Regions from separate parts of the Homo sapiens genome. Here region 2 is linked to region 1. The links are contacts of gene promoters, found by promoter capture Hi-C in human tissues and cell types (Jung and others, 2019). All regions are on one chromosome and are shown on one strand. Each heading gives the region's core, a stretch centred on a gene start or on the middle of the fragment in contact. The rest is flanking DNA. Distances are from core to core; before and after follow the strand shown.

What was found. Contacts are between HindIII fragments. The study calls those that stand out against the background at their distance.
Region 2: a contact is called between a fragment that was not itself captured here and the fragment with the promoter of EYA2 in region 1, in 3 of the 25 tissues and cell types used here (H1 embryonic stem cells, dorsolateral prefrontal cortex and mesendoderm cells).

Annotation. Positions count from the first base shown.
Region 1 is chr20:46,893,021-46,896,441 of GRCh38, forward strand. EYA2 (EYA transcriptional coactivator and phosphatase 2) reads left to right here and starts at 1,823. Exons shown (of 16, transcript NM_005244.5): 1 at 1,823-1,967. The HindIII fragment of the contact is 22,949 bases long and covers 1-3,421 here.
Region 2 is chr20:47,101,866-47,105,286 of GRCh38, forward strand. All of the region lies in intron 9 of EYA2 (EYA transcriptional coactivator and phosphatase 2), which reads left to right. Among named protein-coding and RNA genes, the nearest start is that of MIR3616, 63 kb to the right of the region's middle. The HindIII fragment of the contact is 6,554 bases long and covers 1-3,421 here.

The sequences.
Region 1 (3,421 bases), core at 573-3,072:
GTGAGGCCTGATACATGTATAATTTGCAGCCCCTATTCAAGAAAAAGAGTACAAAATTATGAGTCCAAGATTAGATAAGAAAATGATTATTTCTTTAAATTAAGAAAAGAAATCACAACAAATTCAAATTTTAAGAAGCTGAAAATTACCACAAACATCACAAAATTCCCAACTCAACTTTCCTCCAAAATGCCAGCAGCCACCTGACACCACCCTACTCAAGGGCAAGTTGGGGGTGGGGAATCGGAGTGGAAAGACAGCGGTGTCTACGGCCTGCAGCCAAATGTCCAAAGCAAAGGACTTTTGTAAACTTTACATCAACAAGCCACCATCTGAACACTTTTCTAAGTCCCCTTAGAAAGGGGTCCAAGCAAGTCAGGGGCCCAAGAACTTAACCTTCATCAGCTCCTGTAAACTTACAACTGGAATTGAAGACTGTTACGGCTCAAGAGCAACGGCTTTGGAGTCAGCCAGGCCTGAATTTCATTCCTGGCTCAGCCACTTTCTGCCTTCTTTGAGCTTGGACCTGCTCATTTGTGAAATGAGTGTGCTGACAGCAGCTACCTTGGGGTCTCTCTTGGGGATTACATGAGATAAGGAAGAGTTGGGCATTGGATGAGCTTAAGGTTGCAAATAAAAATATAGGACCCCCGGTTACATTGGAATTTCGGAGACAAAAGAAATACTTTTTAAATATAAGTACGTACAACCAATCGCATAAGACATATACTGCAACTGATTCCTCGTTTCTCTGAAATTCAAATTCACCTGGGTGCCCTGTCTTTTACTGCACTTAAGAAATGACAGTGGTTGATATTGCTTTTGGATTGAAGCATCCTGGGTGTCCCACGGTGGAATTCATAGACATTAGAGAGTGGGTGACGGGCTAGGAAAGGCTGCATAGACTCCAATTAACACAGTTCATTGCCAGGGAGACTAAAAGGGGGGTGGCTATGAGAGGATGGAGTAAGTGGGGTGCCTTGATTTGGGCATGTAGGTGGAGGGGGCTATACCTCTCACTTTCACTAAACCAGTTAAGCTCTTGAGACCTCAGTTTCCTTAGCTGTAAAATGGGTGAAACATAGGGGAGACCCCTGAACCGTTCTCACCTAAATACCACACCAATGGCACTTCCTCATAATTCAGATGTCACCTCCTCAGAGAGGTCTTCCCTGACTGCTCTAGCTAAAATTACCGCCTCTCCTCCACTCCCCAACAGCAGATACATATATTATTTTTCTCCCTGTAACTCTAACTTTCTGAAACTGTCTTGCTTCTTTACTTGGTTATTTGTTTATGGTTTGCCTCTCCATGTGAATGCAAGTTCCGGGAGGGCAGAAAACTAGTCTGTCTTGTTCTAGCTGAGTCTCTCAGGAGTGGTACCTGGCACAGTAGATGCTCAATATATTTTGAATGAATGAATGGGTGGTTGAGTGAACGAATGTTAGTGTCACTATTGAGGTCCTCTCCGAGCCGTCGTTCCTTTCACAGGGGTCATGCCTGGGTTGCAGGGAGGATGTGCTGCCCCGGGGAGGGAGGAGGTGCGGGGTGTCGGTGGGTGGGGAGGAGGCTGGGCCCTGGCCTCCAGGACCGGCGAGAGTGAGCGCGCTCTGCTCGGCTGCAGGCTCAGGAAGCGGCGCGGCGGCACGTGCTGGGCCAGAGCCCCGCGCCCTGCGTCCAGCCGCCGGGTGTGTGCGCCCGCGTAGCCCAGCGTCGCGCCTCGGCGCCCCCACGCGCCCACGCAGCGGCGCGGGGACCCGGGCGGGGGCAGAGGGAGGGCCCGGCCCAGGGAGGAGAAGGGGCCGGTCCTCCCGGCGCAGGCAGCAGCCGCGGCAGCCCAGGAGGCGGAGGCAGCGGCAACGGCAGAGACAGCAACGTGCCCGCCGCAGTCAGCCCGGCCTCGTCGGACCCGCACCGGCCCGCCCGCCCGCCCGCACCGCGTCGGGGCGCCCTCTCCACTGCGCGCGGTGAGTACCGCCAGCGGCGCCCACCCCAGGCCGCCCGCCGGGATTCGCCGGGCGGGGGGAGTTGTTCACCGGGACCCCCTCGCCCTGCGCCTCTTTCTGGCACTCGCCAAGCGGGGCCTCCGCAGCTGTCGGGACGTTCTGGGGCGCACGGGCCTCCCAGGGCCAGGAAGGCACAAGGGCAGAGGGGACAGCAGCAGAGCCCCCCTCTGGAAAGGCTCTCCCAGGCTCGGGGCCCCAGTTTCCCCATGCGCTTTGGGGCAACGACCCTGAAGTTTGCTCTCCCGCGCGCGGGACAAGTGCATGGCGCGCAGGCGGTGTAGACGCGGCTGGGTCCTTGGCGTTTTGTTCGATTATGGTCCCGGCGGTTCGCGATAAGGGGCGCTCCCCCAGTCCGCAAACTCAAGCCCTCAGGTAGTGTTTATGGGATAACCAAGAAGCAGAGCCAACCGCTGGAATCCCGGCTTGGGGCTGGAACGGCCCGCTGAGACTTTGCCTTCTAGCTATTGATATATTTCTTTTCAAAAGTCCGTTTGCGCTCGGCCCGCTCTGGTTCAGGTCTGGGGCTTTGAACCGGGGCAGGGAATCCTGGCGCCTGCTGCGGGTAGAGTTGAAACTTAGAAAAGTTTACATCCGAAGGGTGTTTAGAAGGCGGCAAGGATTTCGTTGTAATGGGAGAAAGTGGGAAATGGAATTGTTTTTTAGTCATGAAGTCTGGAGGTTAAACGGCCGTGCTGGCCCAGGCTCCTTCAATATATTCCTGCCTGCCTCCCCCCCAGCAATAAATAGTTTATAAGCTCAAGGAATACTAGGAAAGCGTGACTGGTGAACGTACTCCTATCGCAAAAGACTCAGTGCGCTTTTCTCAGCTGTTGAACTGGAAGCGCCTTTTGCAGTGCGAGGTTCCTGCTTCCCCGAAGCCGAGGCTGAGAGTTGACAGCGTGCACCCTGCCGCGGTCTGAATTCTTTTTAAAAAGCAAGACCGATGCTGCGTTTTTATGGATACCCTTTTCTTTTCTTTCCCCTTCCCCGAAATGCTATGTAATCTTCAATTACTTTTTAAAATATAACGTGGAGGTATAAATCACCCCGGTAAGAGGTACCTTTTAATTACGAGGTGCAGTGGAAGAGCTGAACATTGGAATCTAGCTGTTAGCGAGGGCGGAGGGGCAGGAGGATGATTTACAAACATCATGTAAGAATTTGAGCACTGAATTATGTTTGAGTTAGGGAGATCCCTTACAAAGGAAATTATAACCAGTGGACAATTGTATTTCAAACCGAATCTATTAATTTCATGAGCCGTTTCTTGATTGAGTGAAATGTCTGTGACCATAATAGATACAGAACTAGTAAGCACCTTACCAGACTATGACCCATTTGTTAGCAACTAACATACACATGTAACCATCCTGCTTACAAAAAAAAAAAGAGGTACACAAAGAAAGAGTGGGAGG
Region 2 (3,421 bases), core at 431-2,930, 210 kb after region 1:
ACAGAACCAAAACTCATGGCCTCAGCTTCTGGCTCACAGTTCTTTCTCTCTGTACTTCCCCAGCACTGCAGCCATGTGAAACTTGTTATTAATAGCTGTCATCAAGTATGACATTCAGTTTGAAGTACAGCATATTTAAGCTGCAAAGAAAATTTATTGAAGCACAATAATTGAAAAACCCAGGGATACCTGGGATTCAGGTCTGGCTGGATCCAGATGTTTAAGCAATGTTCTTAGGTCATTCTGTATCTCTTAGCCAATTTTCTCCATGTGGTAACTCCCTCTCAGCAATCCCAACTAAAAACTGGAAATTTCTAGTACCCACATTCCAGCACAACTTCTAGGCGTTAATGCCAATGTCCCAAACTGGGTCACATGCCCATCCATATGCCAACCTCTGTAGCTCTGATTGGCCAGCCAAATCAAGAGCCCACTCCTGGCATGGGAAAGGAGGGGCAGATCAGCTCCACCTCAACCAAATAGAGTGAGAGAGGGAGGATGGTCCCCCAAAGGAAACTGGAGTAATCCTTCCAGAAGAGTATGAAGGCCCATGGATGTCCAGTGAATGGGCACTGGATGCCAAGATCCCCTGAACATCCATGACAAGAACCAGCAGCACTTTGCTTGTGGCCATCATGCTGCATACCATGCAGGAAGCCAAAATCATTAATAGTACCAGCCAGAGTGGGGACTTGCTGTTTTTTGGGGGAACTAAGCCCAACAAAGCTAAAATGATTGGGGAATGATTCAAAATAGGTTGTTTGAATTTTAAGACAGAAACTGGGCTCCCGTTCTGTTCCCAATCAAGGGATGTGCTGCTTGAGGCTGTCATCTCTTCACTTCCTTTCCATTTCTTCCTCCCCAGTGCTCAGAGCCAGAACATCCCTTTGGTAGCTGTATCTCCCAGCATCTTGTGGATCCATTAGAAATTCCCTAGAGAGCTGGAGCAGCCAGTGACTGCTGCCTCTTTCCTAACCCCTCCCTTCCCCTACCACCCTCCTCCGCAGTCTCTGAACTCTGTTTTTTTCCAGCTGGTATTAGGCAAATGCAAGGTGGTCAAGAGCCTTTGCCTGTGGCCAGGAAGGGATTCTAAAAGAAATTAGTCAGCTTTCCTCCAGGGATTCATGGGGAGTTGCCCTGACTCCTCCTTTTGTGCCTTGCCTTCTAGGCAGCCCACTACCAATATGAAGCTCAACTCCAGGACCTGTTGTTGTTGTTGTTGTTAATAACAATTTTATTGAGATACAATCTACATATCATAATTTACCCTTTCGATGTGTACAATTCAGTAATTTTTAGTATATTCACAGAGTTGTACAACCATCACCACTCTAATTTTAGAATATTTTCATCACCCCAAAAAGAAACCCTATACTCACTAGCAGTCACCCCTGCCATTTCCTTCTCCCCCTGGCCCCTGACAACCACTAATCTACTTTCTTTCTCTACAGATTTGCCTCTTCTGGATATTTCATATAAAGGGAATCACACAGTACGTGTGATCATCCGTGTTGTAGCATGTATCAGTACTCCATTCCTTTTTATGGCCACATAATTTTCCATTGTGTATTAGTCCATTTTCACATGGCTATAAACAAATATTCAAGACTGGGTAATTTATAAAGGAAATAGGTTAAATCATCTCACAGTTCTGCGTGGCTGGAGAGGCCTCAGGAAAGTTAACGAACATGGCAGAAGAGGAAGCAAACACTTCCTTCTTCACAAGGCAGTAGGAGAGAGAAAGTTCAGAGTGTAGGGGGAAGAGCCCCTTGTAAAACGATCAGACATAGTGACAACCCACCCACCCACCACAAGAACAGCATGGGGGAAACCACCCCTATGATCCAATCACCTCCCACGAGGTTCCTCCACCAACACAAGGGGATTACAATTTGGATTATGATTCAAGATGAGATTTGGGTGGGGACACAGAGCCAGACCATATCACAGTTCATGGATAAACTATATTTTGTCTATCCATTTATCAGTTGGATAGTTGAAGTTTGGGCCATTATGAATAATGCTGCTATGAACATTGGCATACAAGTATTTGCATGTGCATATGTTTTTAATTCTCTTAGGTATATGCCTAGGAGTAGAATTGCTGGGCCACATGGTAACTCTAGGTTTAATGCTTTTGAGGAACAGCCAGATTATTTTCCAAAGTGACTGTATCATTTTACCTTCCCATCAGCCATGTAAAATGGCTCCAATTTCTCCACATCCTCATCAATATGTTATTGTCTGCCTTTTTGGCTATAGTCCTAGTAAGTATGAAGTGGTATCTCATTGTGGGTTTGATTGGCATTTCCCTAATAATGTTGACAAGTGACTAGTGATGTTTTTATGTGCTTATTGGCCATTTGTATATCTTCTTTGGAAAAATATTTATTCAAATCTTTTGCTCATTTTTAATTGGTTTGTCTTTATATCATTATAAGAGTTTTTATATATCTGGATACCAGTCTATTATCAGATATGTGATTTGCAAATATTTTCTCTCTCATTCTGTGAGTTGTCTTTCCATTTTCTTTGTGGTATCCTTTGAAATACCAAGCTTTTTATTTTTATGAAGTGCAATTTATGTATATTTTCTTTGGTTACTTTTGCTTTTGGTGTCATATCTGAGACCCTATTGCCTAACCTAGGTCACAGAGATTTACTCCTGCACTTTTTTCTAAGAATTTTCTCATTTTAGCTCTTACATTTAGGTCTGTGATCCATTTTGAGTTAATTTGTGTGTATGATGTGAGGCAGGGGTGCAACCTCATTGTTTTACCTATGACTATCAAGTCGTCCCAGTAGCATTTGTTGAAAAGACTCTTCTTTCCCCTACTGAATTGTCTCAACATCCTGTCAGAAAATCAATTGGCAGCCAGGTGCAGTGGCTCACACCTGTAATCTCAGCACTCTGGGAGGTCCAGGCAGGTGGATTACATGAGGCCAGGAGTTCAAGACCAGCCTGGCCAACATGGTGAAACTCCATCTCTACTAAAAATACAAAAATTAGCCAGATGAGATGGTGCACGTCTGTAATCCCAGCTACTTGGGAGGCTTAGGCATGAGAATTCCTTGAACCCGGGAGGTGGAGGCTGCAGTGAACCAAGATCATGCCATTGCACTCCAGCCTGGGCGACAGAGCCAGACTCTATCTCAAAAATTTTTTTAAAAAATCAATTGGCCGTAAATATGTTTATTTCTTGACTCTTCATTTTATCCCATAGATCTGTATGTATGCCCTTATGCCAGTACCACACTGTCTTGATTACTGTAGCTTTGTAGTAAGTTTCAAAAATGGAAAGTAGGAGTCCTCCACCTTTGTTCTTATGACCAGTCTTGACCTTTATAATTGGCATCTCCATTGGTTTTATTTTTTGTGGTTTTAACATAGCCTTTGCACTTGCTGTTGTTCCCTGTGCCA